4 separate regions of the Homo sapiens genome follow, and all the other regions are linked to region 1. Evidence: promoter capture Hi-C in human tissues and cell types (Jung and others, 2019). All regions are on one chromosome and are shown on one strand. Each heading gives the region's core, a stretch centred on a gene start or on the middle of the fragment in contact. The rest is flanking DNA. Distances are from core to core; before and after follow the strand shown. Region 1 holds the start of PLXDC2 (plexin domain containing 2). Region 2 has its middle 150 kb from the start of NEBL. Region 3 holds the start of LOC105376442 (a long non-coding RNA gene). Region 4 has its middle 30 kb from the start of MIR4675.

Region 1 (4,717 bases), core at 658-3,157:
GAAAATCCATGCAAAAGCGGATCCTCGCAGTTCAAACCCCTGTTGTTCAAGGGTCAACCGCACAATCAGGTTTTGATGAGAAGACTCAGTTTTCAAACTTGATTTTAAGCAGGTATATATCCGGGTACTCAAATTCGGATGTAATATTACATAGAACTTAAACACTCCTAGTTAAGCAGAAATAGAAAAACCCAGTTACCTAAGTAGAAATCAACCTATGGGAGGAAAGCTCAGGAAAGAGCCAGGGTCCTGGCATAATAAAGAGTATAGGCATGATATATGTTTGTGTTTATACGTGTATATCTGTTGTTTGGAAATAAAGAGCAAATTGAGTATTGGATTAAGGGAAACCTTTCTTGTTTCCCATGAGAGAGCCGTCCTTTGAGCATCACATTTGCAAAGGTAGATTGATTATCCGGATCCACTTCCAGTGGGTTTTGTGGCAAGCCGAGACATCTATTGACAGCATCCATAGACTCTTCAGAGCTTGGAGTGGAAAGGACCTTGAACTTAGAACACATGCACATTTATTATGTGATTGAAGTCGTCTTCTCTCACTTTTGCTTCAGTAAACACTTAAACAAAGCCATGTACTTTGCGGTAGGCAATGTTCTATATTTATTAAATATACAGTTAACTCATCCAATCCATTGCAACCACCTTATAAGGGCGTTACTCTAATTCTCTCCATTTGATGGATGGATAACTGAGGCTAGGAGATAAACTGCTCATTGCGGGGGAGGTGAAATTCCAGCCCAGGCTGTCCGGGCTCTAGATCCTGTACTTTTAACCAATAGCGCTTTGCTTCTTTTCCTTGTATTTATCCCTTTCAAAAATGATTAACTGTATGCAAAATAAGATATCAACTAACGAGAGGGCCGGCAAGGGTTAACGCGGAAACAGATCCCCGAGCTGAAAAAACAAAAACAAACTGGGGAGCCAGAGCCCCTGAAAGCTCCGGTAGGAAATTCAATGGGCCTCCTGTTCCTTTAAACTCTCGCTTTCGCCCCCGCTGACACTTTGCAAAGCCGCGGCGGCAGCGGCGGGGACCACGCTGCGGTGCACCACCTTCCGCCACCCTCCCGCGCTGGGCTGGGGTCGAGGGGGCTTCGCAGAGTCGGTAACCGAACCGGCTCTGGTTTGCTTTCTCCACTCCCTAGCCACTACCAGAACCAGCCTCCGCGAAGGGGCGAGCTGTGGTTAACCCTTTCGTGCCCAGGGAGACCCCGCCAGGGTCGGGGCGGGGCGCGATCGCCCCCCGCAGTCGGGCGCGAAGGCGGCCCGGGAGCCAGGTGGGTGTGGGGCGCAGTTGGCGGAGCTGCCCAGGGCGTGCGAGCAGGCTGCGAGGATGGCGCCCCGGCGGCGCGGAGGTACCGCCCCGCGCTCCCCCGATAGCTCCCCGGCCTGTCCCCTCTCCCCGCGCTCTGGGGCAGCCGGCTGCCTGGGGCGCACGGGGCTGGAGTGGCCCTCTCCCTCCCCTTCGCTAGGCTCCCCCGGCTTAATCTGTTGGCCGCGACTCCTCAGCCAGCCCCGAGGAAAGTGCAGCCATTGGACAGGTCTGTGCGGGCTGCCGGTTTCAGGGAGGAAGGTGGGAGAAGCCTGGAGGAGCGAAGGGGAGGGCGGAGGGAGGAGGGAGGAGGGTGCGGCGGCAGATCTGGCAAATTGCGAGCTGCCTTCCCTCCTCAAAGTGTGGAGAAGGAGCGCGGGGGAGCGTGGCGACGGCAGCGCCTCCTCCGCCACCAAACTCCTGGGGCTCCGCGGGGGCTTGGGGCCACCTCCTCCTGAGCCCGGAGGAACCCTCTCCCGATAGGTTCCAGCGTGACTCCCTCCCACTCCACCCTTTTCCTTTCTTCTTCCTCTTTTTTTTTTTTTTTTTTAAACACATTTTTTTCCTGGCTTCGGACCTCAGACTGCTGCAGCCCTAACCTTCCCAGGGCTCAGCTCTTTGGAGCTGCCCATTCCTCCGGCTGCGAGAAAGGACGCGCGCCCTGCGTCGGGCGAAGAAAAGAAGCAAAACTTGTCGGGAGGGTTTCGTCATCAACCTCCTTCCCGCAAACCTAAACCTCCTGCCGGGGCCATCCCTAGACAGAGGAAAGTTCCTGCAGAGCCGACCAGCCCTAGTGGATCTGGGGCAGGCAGCGGCGCTGGCTGTGGAATTAGATCTGTTTTGAACCCAGTGGAGCGCATCGCTGGGGCTCGGAAGTCACCGTCCGCGGGCACCGGGTTGGCGCTGCCCGAGTGGAACCGACAGTTTGCGAGCCTCGGCTGCAAGTGGCCTCTCCTCCCCGCGGTTGTTGTTCAGTGTCGGGTGAGGGCTGCGAGTGTGGCAAGTTGCAAAGAGAGCCTCAGAGGTCCGAAGAGCGCTGCGCTCCTACTCGCGTTCGCTTCTTCCTCTTCTCGGTTCCCTACTGTGAAATCGCAGCGACATTTACAAAGGCCTCCGGGTCCTACCGAGACCGATCCGCAGCGTTTGGCCCGGTCGTGCCTATTGCATCGGGAGCCCCCGAGCACCGGCGAAGGACTGGCGGGTGGGGTAGGGAGGTGGCGGCGGCGGCATGGCGAGGTTCCCGAAGGCCGACCTGGCCGCTGCAGGAGTTATGTTACTTTGCCACTTCTTCACGGACCAGTTTCAGTTCGCCGATGGGAAACCCGGAGACCAAATCCTTGGTAAGTAAGATGCACTTTAGCTTGCTGATTTTGTGCGCAGCTGAAGACCTCTCTGGCACTCTCGTGCTCCCTACCCTCTCCCCCCAACATCACCTATCTGCCCTTGGGAAACTTATTGCAGTTGCTTTTCGGCTAAACTTAGGCTTCCCAAATGGGGAAAGAGGGTTATCAAGAGAAGGACGCCGGGGACTAGGGGTTTTCTTGAGGCTTTCGGGCTTACTTCACCTGGGCGGCAGGGGGTGGTACTGTCTCCCCAAAGTAGCCCAGGGAGGGCTTCAGTGTGAGAGCAAAGCTTCTTCCGTGGATACATCTCCTAGGACCTGGCATCTCCAGGCTGTGTGCTCTCCGGCTCCTCCTCCTTCCTCGCTGCTGGTTAAACTAAGCGTGTGTGGTATGGGGTGGGTGGGGGACGTTGTGAAAGCCAGGGATTGCAGGTCTCCCCTCTGCACGAGAAAATTCCCTGTGGCAGCACCTTCCTTCCCCTGGCGATCCCCACTAGCTCCGTCTAGTGACCTGGGCCAAGCGGGCGCTGGAAGGGGGGCGGGGTAAATGCGGCCGGCGCAGAGGTGGGGAGCAGGTGGGAAAGGTGGAGGCGGGCTCGCCTCTGGAGACCTACCCCTGCTCCCATTGTCCTCCGCCTGCCAGCTTCACAGACAGGCCTGAACGCGCAGAGAGTTCCTTGGAGTGCCCTGATTTTGTCCCCGAGAGGGCCCCCAACCTCCGCATCCTCTTAGTGGCTGTCCTGGCAGGTGCGCGTCCTGCGGGGAGTTGCGCCCCGGGGGCTATCGCCGAGCGGGAGCTGCCTCCTGGAACCCTGCCCACCGCGAACTGGGTGCCTACTCCCCATTTCTGCCTTTCAGTGAAGAAAGTGAAGACACAGGCAGAAAGAGATCTTGGCAGAAATTGGTGAACTAGGGTGGACTTCGAGAGGAGGTGAAACGAGAGAAAAAGAAAAAAGAAAAAACTTGGAGGGAAAAGAAAAGAAAACGAAAACTTTCTCCCTAGGATAATCAATTTGTCAATTTGTTCTTTTCTGGTGTGTGTGTGTGTGTGTGTGTGTGTGTGTGTGTGTGTGTGTGTGTAATTTAAATGATTGCCCGGAAAGTATGCATGCGTCCTCAACAGTCAACTAGAGAGTCACAGATGGAAGGTTGGGGGACACCTGGGGATTCCAGGCAAGGTGAATCTTGAAGATCTTGAAGGAAACCCTTGAGTGAAATTTACCAAGCCGCGACTTAGAAGACAGTCACAACACTTCGCCTGTCCCTGGTGTAAACTGTTCTAGATAAAGCACAGATACTGACTCTGCGCTCTTATTTATGGTTGAAGGGGTGTGTGTGTTGGGGTGTATGTGCAGGGAGGCAATAGGATGACAACACTTTTAAAGCTGAGAACAAAATGCAGATTTCTTGGGTGTTGACTTGTCTTTGTCACATTTAATTGTTCTGCATTAATGGACATAGGTTGTTCTTGACTGTGTATGATTTATGACAGTAGACTATGCCTTTTGTTTATTTCTCTGATACGTTTCATTGGTCCGAAAAAATAACACTTTTAGCCTTCCAGGAAAGGACACAGTTATTTAAAAATTGCAACAGTAATTTTCATGTACTTATTCACGGTATGAATAGATGCTTAATAAAAACAATTAACTCCACCACAAACGAGGTTAAAAGGATGTGTGTGCCAATGTGCATCCCAAGTTGTTTATTTAAAAACTTCTTTGGCACTAGGAATAAATAATGCATTTGCAGTAAAGGAAAAAAAAATAAATGCCAGCAAATGTTTATCTTTTTATAAACCTGTTCCAGTAACGTTACTGAAAAAAGAATATATGTATACACACACACACACACACACACACACACACACAATACACACACATTTGCTATGCCAAGAAGTTCAGAAATTGAGGATGAAATTCATCCCAAAGTAAGATTGGCCATATAATTAAAAGCCCTTGCTGTGGGAAATATAAAATACTTAAAATGTTCAACATCAGTGTACTGGTATTTTAAGCTAGTTGAATATTTCTGATGGGAAATATACT
Region 2 (4,717 bases), core at 1,354-3,853, 940 kb after region 1:
CAGAATAGCTCCAGGTACTTTTGCCAGATTAAGACTAGTGTCCCTCACAGTGAGAAAAAGTCTTTGAGGGTAAAGAATACTCAAGCCTTATGAAACTTGCTGGTGGGCTAGAGGAATAACTCAATCAATCAAGAAACTTTTAAAAAAGAGATAGAAGACTCAAAATCAGAGATGAAAAGGGAACCATTGCAACTGGTACCATAGGAATACAAAGGATCTATCATAAGAAACAATTATGAACAATTATATGTCAACAAATTGGAAAAGCTGGAAGAAATGGATAAATTCCTGGACATATGCAACTACAAAGACTGAATTATGAAGAAATAGAAAATCCAACCAAAGAAAAAGATCGAATGAGTAATTAAAGATATCCTATCAAAGAAAAGCCCAGGACCTAATGACTTCACTACTGAAAATTCTAGGCAACACTTAAAGAAAAACTAATACCAATTTTTATCGACTATTCTCAAAAAATTAAAGACAAAAGAATTCTTCCAAACTAATTCAACAAGGAGAGGATTACCCTGATATCAAAACCAGACAAGGACACAACAACCAAAAAGAAAATTTTAGGCCAATATCTCTGATGAACATAAATGCAAAAATCCTCAACAAAATACTAGCAAAGCAAATTCAATAGCATATTTTTAAAAAATCATTCACCATGATTAAATGGGATTCATCCCAGGAATGCAAGGATGGTTCAACATATGGAAATCAATAAATATGATACACCACATTAACAGAATGAAAGGCAAAAATCACATAATTATTTCAATAGATGCAAGAAGAGGATTTGAGAAAATTCAACTTCACTTCATGCTAAATATTCTCAAAGAAGAAACATACTTCAACACAATAAAGGCAATGTATGGCAAACCCACAGCTAACATGATATTGAACAGGGAAAAGTTGAAAGCTTTTCTCCTAAGGTCTGGAACAAGATGAAGCTGCCCACTTTTACCACTTCTACTCAATATAATACTGGAAGTTCTAGCCAGAACAAGAGAAAGAAATCAAAGGCATTCAAATTGGAAAGAAGGAAGTTAAATTGTCCCTGTTCACAGAAAATACGATCCCATTAACAGAAAACTCTAAAGATTCCATCAAAAAAACTATTTGAACTAATAAATTCAGTAAAGTTACAAGATGTAAAATGAACATACAAAAATCTGGCAAGGCATGGTGGCTCACACCTGTAATACCAGCACTTTAGGAGGCTGAGGCAGGCAGATCAGTTGAGGCTAGGAGTATGAGAACAGCCTGGGTAACATGATGAAACCCCATCTCTACAAAACATACAAAAATTAGCCAGGTGCTGTGGCACACACCATAGTCCCATCTACTGGGGAGAATGAGGCAAGAGAATCACCTGGGCCCAGGGAGGCAGAGGTTGCAGTGAGCTGAGATCATGCCACTGCACTCCAGTCTGGGTGACAGAAGTGAAATCTTGTCTCAAAAAAAAAAAAAAAAAATCAGTAGCATTTCTATATATTAATAGCAAACTATCTGAAAAAGAAATCAAGAAAAAATACCATTTACAGTAGCCACCAAAAAAACCAGCCTAGGAATAAATTTAACCAAGAAGGTAAAATATCTCTACAATGAAAACTATAAAACATTAATGAAAAATTGAAGAAGACCAAAATAAATGGAAAAATATCCCATAATGACAGTTTGAAAGAATTAATATTCTTAAAATGTTTATACTTCCCAAAGAGATCTACAGATTTAATCCAATCTTTACCAAAATAGCAATGGCATTCTTCACAGACATTTTTTTTTTTTTACATATAGAAATCAAGGTATTTATTTATTTATTTATTTATTTTTTTTTTTAATTTTTTTTTTAAATTATACTTTAAGTTTTAGGGTACATGTGCACATTGTGCAGGTTAGTTACATATGTATACATGTGCCATGCTGGTGCGCTGCACCCACTAACGTGTCATCTAGCATTAGGTATATCTCCCAATGCTATCCCTCCCCCCTCCCCCGACCCCACCACAGTCCCCAGAGTGTGATATTCCCCTTCCAGTGTCCATGTGATCTCATTGTTCAATTCCCACCTATGAGTGAGAATATGAGGTGTTTGGTTTTTTGTTCTTGCGATAGTTTACTGAGAATGATGGTTTCCAATTTCATCCATGTCCCTACAAAGGACATGAACTCATCATTTTTTATGGCTGCATAGTATTCCATGGTGTATATGTGCCACATTTTCTTAATCCAGTCTATCATTGTTGGACTTTTGGGTTGGTTCCAAGTCTTTGCTATCGTGAATAATGCCGCAATAAACATACGTGTGCATGTGTCTTTATAGCAGCATGATTTATAGTCATTTGGGTATATACCCAGTAATGGGATGGCTGGGTCAAATGGTATTTCTAGTTCTAGATCCCTGAGGAATCGCCACACTGACTTCCACAATGGTTGAACTAGTTTACAGTCCCACCAACAGTGTAAAAGTGTTCCTATTTCTCCACATCCTCTCCAGCACCTGTTGTTTCCTGACTTTTTAATGATTGCCATTCTAACTGGTGTGAGATGATATCTCATAGTGGTTTTGATTTGCATTTCTCTGATGGCCAGTGATGATGAGCATTTTTTCATGTGTTTTTTGGCTGCATAAATGTCTTCTTTTGAGAAGTGTCTGTTCATGTCCTTCGCCCACTTTTTGATGGGGTTGTTTGTTTTTTTCTTGTAAGTTTGTTTGAGTTCATTGTAGATTCTGGATATTAGCTCTTTGTCAGATGAGTAGGTTGCAAAATTTTCTCCCATGTTGTAGGTTGCCTGTTCACTCTGATGGTAGTTTCTTTTGCTGTGCAGAAGTTCTTTAGTTTAATTAGATCCCATTTGTCAATTTTGGCTTTTGTTGCCATTGCTTTTGGCGTTTTGGACATGAAGTCCTTGCCCACGCCTATGTCCTGAATGGTAATGCCTAGGTTTTCTTCTAGGGTTTTTATGGTTTTAGGTCTAACGTTTAAATCTTTAATCCATCTTGAATTGATTTTTGTATAAGGTGTAAGGAAGGGATCCAGTTTCAGCTTTCTACATATGGCTAGCCAGTTTTCCCAGCACCATTTATTAAATAGGGAGTCCTTTCCCCATTGCTTGTTTTTCTCAGGTTTGTCAAAGATCAGATAGTTGTAGATATGTGGCATTATTTCTGAGGGCTCTGTTCTGTTCCATTGATCTATATCTCTGTTTTGGTACCAGTACCATGCTGTTTTGGTTACTGTAGCCTTGTAGTATAGTTTGAAGTCAGGTAGTGTGATGCCTCCAGCTTTGTTCTTTTGGCTTAGGATTGACTTGGCGATGCGGGCTCTTTTTTGGTTCCATATGAACTTTAAAGTAGTTTTTTCCAATTCTGTGAAGAAAGTCATTGGTAGCTTGATGGGGATGGCATTGAATCTGTAAATTACCTTGGGCAGTATGGCCATTTTCACGATATTGATTCTTCCTACCCATGAGCATGGAATGTTCTTCCATTTGTTTGCATCCTCTTTTATTTCCTTGAGCAGTGGTTTGTAGTTCTCCTTGAAGAGGTCCTTCACATCCCTTGTAAGTTGGATTCCTAGGTATTTTATTCTCTTTGAAGCAATTGTGAATGGGACTTCACTCGTGATTTGGCTCTCTGTTTGTCTGTTGTTGGTGTATAAGAATGCTTGTGATTTTTGTACATTGATTTTGTATCCTGAGACTTTGCTGAAGTTGCTTATCAGCTTAAGGAGATTTTGGGCTGAGATGATGGGGTTTTCTAGATAAACAATCATGTCGTCTGCAAACAGGGACAATTTGACTTCCTCTTTTCCTAATTGAATACCCTTTATTTCCTTCTCCTGCCTGATTGCCCTGGCCAGAACTTCCAACACTATGTTGAATAGGAGCGGTGAGGGCATCCCTGTCTTCTGCCAGTTTTCAAAGGGAATGCTTCCAGTTTTTGCCCATTCAGTATGATATTGGCTGTGGGTTTGTCATAGATAGCTCTTATTATTTTGAAATACGTCCCATCAATACCTAATTTATTGAGAGTTTTTAGCATGAAGGGTTGTTGAATTTTGTCAAAGGCTTTTTCTGCATCTATTGAGATAATCATGTGGTTTTTGTCTTTGGCTCTGTTTATATGCTGGATTACATTTATTGATTTGCGTATATTGAACCAGCCTTGCATCCCAGGGATGAAGCCCACTTGATCATGGTGGATAAGCTTTTTGATGTGCTGCTGGATTCGGTTTGCCAGTATTTTATTGAGGATTTTTGCATCAATGTTCATCAAGGATATTGGTCTAAAATTCTCTTTTTTGGTTGTGTCTCTGCCCGGCTTTGGTATCAGAATGATGCTGGCCTCATAAAATGAGTTAGGGAGGATTCCCTCTTTTTCTATTGATTGGAATAGTTTCAGAAGGAATGGTACCAGTTCCTCCTTGTACCTCTGGTAGAATTCGGCTGTGAATCCATCTGGTCCTGGACTCTTTTTGGTTGGTAAACTATTGATTATTGCCACAATTTCAGAGCCTGTTATTGGTCTATTCAGAGATTCAACTTCTTCCTGGTTTAGTCTTGGGAGAGTGTATGTGTCGAGGAATGTATCCATTTCTTCTAGATTTTCTAGTTTATTTGCATAGAGGTGTTTGTAGTATTCTCTGATGGTAGTTTGTATTTCTGTGGGATCGGTGGTGATATCCCCTTTACCATTTTTTATTGTGTCTAT
Region 3 (4,717 bases), core at 1,417-3,916, 780 kb after region 1:
CATCTCAAAAAGCCTTGAAATAATGAGAATATATTACTTGATATGAATTTATAGGTCATTTACTTAGGTTTCTACATCAATTTATTGATCCTTAGACTCTAAGTTTGAGAAAAAGTTTAAGACGGGTTATTTAGATGACACTTATCTTCCTCTTGTTTTATTCATCTTATATGGAAATACATTACTTTTGCCTGTCACTTTTGTTAATTAGCTTTATCAATAGGCATAAACTGTATAGCAAGCTGAAATAACTGGATCTTATGTGGTATCTTTTAGCTACATCATTTAAGGCAGTTGATATTTCTATAAACAACATTTTTATGCACTTTCATGTTTGTGGTTAACCTGTTAAAGCTATTCTTCCCTTTTGTATTTCTCTATGTCATTATGAGGCAGTGTCTAAAGAAAAGATACATTTGACTGATAAATCCAAGGTTATCCAACATTAAGAAAAAAACATATATATACCCCAAAGGTTCAATCTAATGATATCAGGATCTAGGAATGAGGAGGCCTGGTCCCATAAACCCCTTGAAAACAATACATTTGATGAGGAACTTTTAATAACTCTCATCCTTAGCAATCATTTGTATGAAGAGTTCAGTGAGTCATAGCTGACCAGGGAAATATCTCACAACAATGCAGTCTGATAGCCAAGCACCCTGCTTTCATTCCTTGTAAAGTAAAAAACACTTGTCTAAACACTCTCAATGTAACACCATTATTCTCTTTTTTTCTTTTTGAATGGTAAATGACAGTATCAAAAAATCATGGAATTAAAATAGCAGCTCCTTTCTTTTTCGTGCATTTTTATCTAAATGAAATCTGCCATACTTCAGGGCCTATGTTCAGTGTGATACTTTTGTGGAGGCTCAGTCTATAGCCAAAACTGTGTGTGTTGATACTAAGATTCTGAAAACCTTCATTTTTTTATCTTTCAATTCTATTCATTATACTGAGACATTTATTTTCCAGAAGCAAAAAGGATGGATGTTAAAGTTTTTTTTCTGATTTGTACTTTTGATTCACGATCTGATTTTTCATAAAGAAGCCTCGACAGGGTTTGTTTTCCTATTGAAGATCTCACATTCAAGTCTTCACTGTCAAGAGCAAGCAGGGGATAGAATGTACCAAGTAACTTAGCAACCATCCAAATTCCATCCACATTCCAGGCCTGTGCTCCAGTTCTATGGGAAACACCATTCAATCCAGAAATAGACAAGAAAGAGGGTTGAAACCTTCATGACAATGCTAGAGAATTAACAGTGAGAGATGCATTAAGCAACAACACAGTTTTGCCTTTTACAAGCTCCCTGAGGTTTTTATTTCAGTCAGAGGACCAAGATTTCAGTTCAAGTCACTGGAAGAAAAGAGCTGTCATTTATGGTAAGAGAACAAATTTAAGGAGCAGAGGGAATTAAAAGTTCAGTTCTGACATGTTAAGTTCCAAACACCTTAATGGGTGTTTTCTCCAAAAGAGGATTATAGTCAGCAAGTAATTTTCAGGTGAGAAGGTGAGAGGGGTGAAGGAGAGGTAAAATGCTTGAGCCCCAAGGCATGCCAGCCTTTAGACACCTAAAGATGAGCATGAATGAGCTAAGGAGACTGAAAAACAGGTCAGTGATAGGGATATGCTAAAAGTTCAAGAAATTAAGTGTTAAAAAAGAAGAGTGATCAACTGAACAAGTACCGAAATAGGTAGGCAAGATGACAACGATATTGATTCTGGTAACAGAAAAGTCTTTGGGACATTAACAAGAGGCCTTCAGAGCAGTGCACGGGACAAAAGTCTGATGGGAGGGCCTTCTAGGGTGACTGGAAAGGCAGGGAGATCCCTTTTGTTACTTCCGGTGTGTAGCAGGAAAAGTAATTAACATATGGAGAATTCACAATCTTGCACTGCCTTTAACTTTGTGATTTTCGATGAACATTTACAATTAAAAAGTTAAGCTATATGATCTTTACCCTTCATTTGAACATTTTCTAGTCTATAATCCCTCCTTAAATAATGCTTTCCCAAATTTGACTTTAGTTTCTTAACTGTTTTTTAGATTTAAATATGCCTGCTTTCTCTGCGTTCTGTTCTCTATCTCTCTCTCTTCCCCCCACCGTGTGTGTGTGTGTCTGTGTGTGTCCGTGTGTGTGTTGCTGAGTCTCCCTTTAAGTCAGGTAGAAGAGGAAAACTACCATATTACCATTAATAAGTCCATTATAAATTATGAGCTAATATTATTTAAAACATAGATGAAAATAAAAAATTCAAAACTTTTGAAATGGGAAACAATCATGAAATTTCTGTCCAGGCTATTTTCTATGACATTATAAAACTAAATAGCCCCTCCTGAATTTAACATTACTATTTTGTCTTAGGCTTTTTAAAAAATACAGATATGTAGGCAAATAATTCTTCTACTCAAACATATCCCTACTTTATAAGGTGGCTTTCGTGCCACTTACTGAGTAATTTTATATTCGTGAAGTGCTTTGAGCTACGCAGGAAATCTGTGAAAAATGAATAAAGAACCAGCTATGTCTTCAATTTACTCCAAGATGGAATGAAACTTTTCATCCTGATTAGGGAATAAATATTAAATATAGATAATCTTGGATTCATGTTATGATGTGAACCTGTATGTCTCTCTTTCACTGACAAAATATACAGAAACACTTTATGGGACATTAATTCTTAAAAACCATGTCAAAATATAGGTCCATGGTGGAATCATTCTAAGGTGGCTCTCCAGTGCATCCTGCAAGGGTAGGGTAGGGAGGAGGCCCCCCAGCCTCTGTGTCCTAGCCTGGTAGCAGCTGTCGTCTGGGCAGCAAGGATGACTCACAGGGCTGAGATCCCACCAGGCTCTTGCACCGGGGAGAGCCTTGGAGAGCTGAGTCATGAGCCAGGATAATAAGCCAGAATTCACTTCCAAATCTGACTCAGAGCACAGGAGCTACCGAGACCAAAACATGTGGCCACTTGGGTGTAGCATTTGGTGCCCCTTCAAATCAATGTTCTTTAATACATGGTAAGAGACAGGACATTCTCTTCTATTGCTCAGAGCAATTTAGCTCTGGTAACACGCTTAAAACCTCACCCAGCAAAACTGAAGCTTTCCAACTATATTCCCATCCTCCTGAGAAGGTACTTTAGGAATAAGGGCCATATATTGTTACTAAAACATGACTCTACTGTGACCAAGGCATACCCCTCTTATTTCCTCTTTTACATAGACTTTAAACTGTAGACTATAAAGAATAGACTTCACTTTTAGAGCTGTTTAGGTTTATAGAAATATTGAGCAGAATGTATAGAGTAATATACCCCCTCGCCTACTCCAGTATAGTTTCCCTTATTAGTATCTTGCACTAGTCTGGTACATTTGTTACAAATGATGAATCAATATTGATACATAATTAACTAAAGGCCATAGTTTAAATTAGAATCAACTCTTTGTTGCACAACTCTATAGGTTTTGAAAAATGCTTAATGTCATACATTCATCATTATAGTATCATACAAAATAATTTCACTGTCCTAAAAACCTAGCATGCTTTACCTGTTCATTTCTCCATTTTCCTTTTGATGTAGTTTATCAAAGTATTCCTTACAAACGTTATCCCTCTCATCACATTTTCAGTGATGTTTCATTACCGGGGAGGTATTTTAGTATCCCTTACAGAGAAACAACTATCCAGCTGGTCCAATAGTAATCAGATTCTCACTCTATGGATGGAAAAATTGCCAGCTTCCCTTTCAATCTTACTGAAATAGAATTTCAAAAATTATGTCTAACAAGTGAGAAGGTGATAGGTGATTGCCATGGTGGGAATATGTCCCACAAAGTTCATGTGTTGGAAGCTTAATTCCCCATGCAACAGTGTTGGGAGGCAGGGCCTAATAAGAGGTAATTGATTAGGTCATGAGGACTCTGCCCTCATTAATGGATTAATGTCATTATTGAGGGAGTGGATTTGTTATTACAAGAGTGGGTTGTTATAAAAGTAAGTTTTGCCCCTTCTTGCTCTCTCTTACTCTCATACTGTCTTGCCCTTCCACCTTCTGCCTTGGATGACACAGCAGGAATGCCCTCACCAGGTGTTGTCACCATGGTCTTGAAATTCAAGATTCCAAGATTCCAAGATTTTGGATTCTCTAGAATCATAAGACAAATAAAGTTACATTGCTTACAAATTACCCAGTCTCAAGTATTCTGTTACATAGAGTACTCAAGAATTTTCTTAAACACAAAATGGACTAAATATGACTAGTGTTTATACTCAAGTTTGAAGAACAGCAAGAAAGATGAGGTACAATACTCATTAAAATTTTCATCATGCTAAATTCACAGAAATACTGAATAGAAGACAGAAAAAGGGGCAATGCCATCATTAAGGCAAGGTTAAGTTACATATCAAATTCTGGTTTCCTTTTACTAAGTTCTCTTGAAGAAGAGTGGGTCTCTTCCTAAAGCAAGTTCAAGTTTCCTTCTCTACAGGGAGGCATAAGTTCCAATCACTTGCCACAGTTGTATTCAGGACACGAGTTAGGTTTTTATAAGATATGTAGGCCTAAATATAATGGAAAGGCAGATCCATAATTCAGAGCACACAAAGAGTTTCCCAAATGACCCAAGCTTGGGATACTCTGTCTTGCATTTTGAACATCATGCTTATAGGAAAACTTTGATGGGGGGTAGGAAATGAGCTGAAACATTTGGGT
Region 4 (4,717 bases), core at 635-3,134, 760 kb after region 1:
AAATAAATCTGTAGTAATAGTTGGCTTTCTTTGGAAATTAAGTGAAAAATGAGCTGTGATACTTTCACTTAGTTTCTCCCTTGGATACGATAGATACCTTGTAGGGCACCTTCATAGCACAAGGGCTCTGTTTTATTAATGCACCTACATCTACCCAGCTCCCATTTCCACCTAGCGCAGTGGTTGCCAGAAAGGAATCCATGCACCTTAGGGAGTGCACAAGACAATCCACTAAGCTGGGTGGAGAAAATATTAAAACTTCTATTGATACCTATTTTTAAACCTAAAAATAAGATTGAAATCGTGCTTTTCTAATTTTGCACAAAACGACAGGAGCACATGGGTATCAGTTTTATTTTATTTATTTTTTGAGGCATGGTCTTGCTCTGTCACCCAAACTGGAGTGCAGTAGTGTGATCATGGCTCACTGCAGTCTTGACCTCCTGGACTCAAGCGATCCTCACACCTCAGCCTCCTGAGTAGCTGGGACTACAGGCACATGCCACCACACCCGGCTAGTTTTTGTATTTCTTGTAGAGACAGGATTTTGCCATGTTGGCCAGGCTGGTCTTGAACTCCTGACCTCAAAGCCATCCTCCTGCCTTGGCCTCCCAAAGTGCTGAAATTACAGGTATGAGCCACCACACCCAGACTGGGTATAAATTGTAGATAAATATATACTTATTGGCAAAATTTGATCAAAATGTTTTACTGATGGGGTGTGATTTTTAAAAGTTTGGAGACCAGTGAAATGGATGATTTCTTCCTGTCTTGAAATTGAATGCTTTGGCAACAGAACTGTTTCTAGTTGAACAAAAAATAACTTTCCATTGGACTGATGACTATCTGGCAGAAGCCTGCCTGCGTCTCTGTGAGTGGATTACAACTGACTTGTGCCACCAAAGGTAGAAGGCTTGAATCTTACCGAGCAGAAACCTCTCAAGAGACAGACCCTCTATATGTTCTTCCCCATTTCCAGTCTCATGAGAGAATACATATGTACATTTTTATTTAAAAGCACAAAATACAGTGCAAGCTTTCATAACATGGGGCTCATGGTTCTCTGGAGGATTCAGGGGTGGATGCAGGAGATGTGTGGGCTTCTTGAAATCACATAACACATTTTATAAGGCTGGATATTTATGCATTTTACTAGGGAGTGAACTCAAAGCTTTAACATGATTTTCCAAGAGCAAGTGACTCTCCAAAAATTAGTGGCTGGTATAACTTTTTAAAGTACAGTTAACCCTTCAACAACACAGGGTTTAGGGGTGCAGATCCCCAACACAATCGAAAACTTGTGTATATGTTTTGACTTCCCAAAACTTAACTATTATTTAGCTACTGTTGACCAGAAACTTTACCATAACATAAACAGTTGATTAACATATATCTTGTATGATATATATATGATATACTACATTCTTACAATAAAGCAAGCTAGAAAAAAGAAAATGTTAAGAAAATCATTTTAAAAAAGTATGTTTACTATTAATTAAGTGGAAGTGGATTATCAAAGGTCTTCACCCTACTGTCTTCATGTTGAGTAGACTGAGGAGGAGGAGGAGGAGGAAGAGGAGGTGTTGGTCTTGGTCTTGCTGTTTCAGGGGTGGCAGACGCAGAAGAAAAGTCACATGTAAGTGGACCCATGCAGTTCAAACCTGTCTTGCTCACAAGTCAATTGTACTGAAAGTCTATCTTAAGGTATGTATTTAAATGCTAATATGGTTTGGACTTGTGTTCCCACCCCAATCTCATGTTGAATTGCAATCCTCAGTGTTGGAGGAGGGGCCTGGTGGGAGGTGACTGGATCTTGACTGCAGACTTCCCCCTTGCTGTTCTCTTGAACAGCAAGTGAGTGAGTGAGTTCTCTTGAACAGCAAGTGAGAACAGTGAGTGAGTTCTCATGAGTTATGGCTGTTTAAAAGTGTGTAGCACATCCCCCTTCACTCTCTCTTTCTCATGCTCTGGCCATGTAAGACGTGCCTGCTTCCCCTTCCACTTCCGCCATGATTGTATAAGTTTCCTGAGGTCTCCCCAGCCATGCTTCCTTTACAGCCTGCAGAACCGTGAGTCAATTAAACCTCTTTTTCTTTTTATAAATTACCTAGTCTCAAGTAGCTCTTTTATAGCAGTGCAAGAATGGACTAATGCAAATGCCTACTTTCAACAAACACAATTTACACATTACAACAAACACATTAATTGTTTTTAAAGAATTAAAGCACTTCAACCAGGTCATTGTGGGCAGAAAGAGTTCAGAATATTGTTCAAGAAATTGGCACACAAGTCAGGAACAAAGAAAACCCCAACTTATGCTTCCTTTTGATAGGGACAGGGGACAGAGAAATTCTATGCAGAAAAGGGAGGGTCCCTGGCAAAACCCCACCCTCAAGCTGAAAAGCTTGAAACCACAGCCCAAAGTGATAACTTCTATACCTGTTTTCCTGCTCAATGTTGCCTTTTCCTAAACCACACATGGCCCTGCTCTGCCCCATCCTGTGCCTATAAAAACCCCAGGCTCACCCGGTAGATGGGACTACAGCTGGATGTCGAAGAGAAGTGGTTTGACTTCAGAAGGACAGCTTGACGGCCTAACTCCAGAGAAGAATCTGGCTGGTGATGGCCAGACTTCAGGGAAAGATTTCCTACCTGCCCAGTCCCCTTTTCAGCTCCCCTTCCCACTGTGACCCTCTTTCGTTGGCAATAAAATTTCCCACATTTGCCATCCTTCAATTCATTCATGTGACCTCATTTTTCCTGGATGCTAGACAAGAGCTTGGGAGCCACTAGTGTGGATACAAAAGGCTGTCACACTGGCCCTCTGCCCTTGCTGGTGGAGGGCAGCCACCTCATGCAAAAAGGCAAAGGGCCCACTGAGCTGTTAACACTTAAGCAATCCATGGATGGCAGAGCTAAAAGAGCACTGTAACATATTCTCTGGGGCTTTGGGGGTTGCAGGCAGCCCCATCTGAATGCTGCTGTGGGGCCTGCATAGGGTTTGCTCCTGCTAGAGCCCAAAAGTGGCCACTCTGATGCCCGCACCCACTCACCTGTGTGCTCCCTCCCACAACAGGTGGAAAGTAACAGGTCCGAGTGAGTGGAGTTTGATCATGCCAGTGCCAAAGCGACTGGCTAGTTCCAGTGCTTGTTCACTCCAGTTCCTGCACTCATTTGCTCCTGCGTTCCATCCATCAAGGAGTTGAGAGTGGTGGGCTGAGTAAATGAGGCACCCCTGTCGTGAGTCTCGCAAAGGGGTCAAGGAAATATCCTGTGTCACCATATCCCCCCCTCCTCCTACTTTCTCTGCTTTTAACTGAGCACTTTACATGATTCCATTTTCTCTCTTCTCTTAAAATATCATTTATATATATATATATTTTTTACTTTTTCAGTGGTTTCCCTAGAGCTTGCAGTATATATTTACAATTAATTTAAGTCCCCTTTTGAATAACACTATACCACCCCACAGGTAATGCAAGCAACTTATAACAAAGAATTCCTACTTCCTCTTTCCTGTTTCTTATAACATTGCTGCTACTTCTTTTATTTATCCATATCCTATAATTACCCAATATGTTGTTACTATTACCACTCTGAATACTAGATCAACTAAGACAAAAATTATTTTACCTTCATTTATTCCTTCTCTGATGCTCTTTTTTAAAATGATTTTTAATTTCTTTTCATTTTTGTGGGTACATAGGTGCATATATTTATGGGGTACATGAGGTTGTACAGGCATGGAATGCATAATAATCACATCATGGGAGTGGGGTATCCATCCCCCAAACATTTACCCTTTGAGGTAAAAATGATCCTGTTATACCCTTTAAGTTATTTTAGAATGTACAATTAAGTTATTATTGACTATAGTCACCATATTGTGCTATCAAATAGTAGGTCTTATTCATTCTTTCTATTATTTTTTTCTTTCTTTATGCACATCCAAATTTACGACCAACATTCTTTCCTTCTTCCTGAAAACTTTTGACAGTCCAGGTCTACTGATGAATTTCCTTAGCTTTTGTTTATCCAAAAACATCTTTAATTCTCCTTTACTTGTAGAGGATAATCCCACTGGATACAGAATTCTTGATCCGTGGTCTTTTTCTTTTGACCCTTTTAAATATTTTATTTCACTCTCTTCTTCCTTGCATGGCTTCTGACAAGAAGTTGCATGTGATTATTATCCTTTATCTCCTACAGGTAAAGTGTGTTTTTTTTTTTCTCCATTTCTTTCAATATTTTCTTTTTGTCTTTGGTTTTCTGTAGCTTGAAAATTAAATGCCTAGGAACAGATTTTTTGATATTTATCCTACTTGGTGTTTGCTGGGCTTCCTGGACCTGTTGTTTAGTGTATACCATTAATTTTGGAAACTTTTCAGCCATGATTACTTCAAAACTTCTTCTCTTTCTTTTCCTTCTGGTACTCCAATTATATAAGTGTTACACCACTTGAAATTGTCCCAACGTTCCTGGATTTTCTGTTCTGTTTGTTCCACTCTTTTTTCTCCCCATTTCAGTTTGTGAAATTTTATTGACATTATCTTCAAGCTCATTAACTATTTCCTCAGATGTATCCAATCTCCTGAGGATCCCATCAAAGGTATTCTGCATTTCTGCTACAGTTTTTTAAATTTCTAACATTTCCTTTTTATTCTTTTCAGTTTTCATCTTTCTGCTTATGTCAGATTCATTAGTTCTTGCATGTTGT

Evidence for each region. Contacts are between HindIII fragments. The study calls those that stand out against the background at their distance.
Region 2: a contact is called between a fragment that was not itself captured here and the fragment with the promoter of PLXDC2 in region 1, in 1 of the 25 tissues and cell types used here (dorsolateral prefrontal cortex).
Region 3: a contact is called between a fragment that was not itself captured here and the fragment with the promoter of PLXDC2 in region 1, in 1 of the 25 tissues and cell types used here (H1 embryonic stem cells).
Region 4: a fragment that was not itself captured here is called in contact with the fragment with the promoter of PLXDC2 in region 1 in 2 of the 25 tissues and cell types used here (H1 embryonic stem cells and dorsolateral prefrontal cortex).

Annotation. Positions count from the first base shown.
Region 1 is chr10:19,814,525-19,819,241 of GRCh38, forward strand. It overlaps PLXDC2 (plexin domain containing 2), which reads left to right and starts at 1,908. Exons shown (of 14, transcript NM_032812.9): 1 at 1,908-2,667. The coding sequence starts at 2,556. It overlaps LOC124902388 (a long non-coding RNA gene), which reads right to left and starts at 1,704. Exons shown (of 2, transcript XR_007062078.1): 1 at 1-1,704. RefSeq lists an enhancer at 832-1,597. The HindIII fragment of the contact is 14,250 bases long and covers 1-4,717 here.
Region 2 is chr10:20,749,824-20,754,540 of GRCh38, forward strand. No RefSeq gene overlaps it. Among named protein-coding and RNA genes, the nearest start is that of NEBL, 150 kb to the right of the region's middle. The HindIII fragment of the contact is 5,109 bases long and covers 50-4,717 here.
Region 3 is chr10:20,595,925-20,600,641 of GRCh38, forward strand. It overlaps LOC105376442 (a long non-coding RNA gene), which reads left to right and starts at 1,086. Exons shown (of 4, transcript XR_007062080.1): 1 at 1,086-1,386. RefSeq lists an enhancer at 1,129-1,629. The HindIII fragment of the contact is 3,153 bases long and covers 1,091-4,243 here.
Region 4 is chr10:20,579,405-20,584,121 of GRCh38, forward strand. No RefSeq gene overlaps it. Among named protein-coding and RNA genes, the nearest start is that of MIR4675, 30 kb to the left of the region's middle. The HindIII fragment of the contact is 5,080 bases long and covers 1-4,424 here.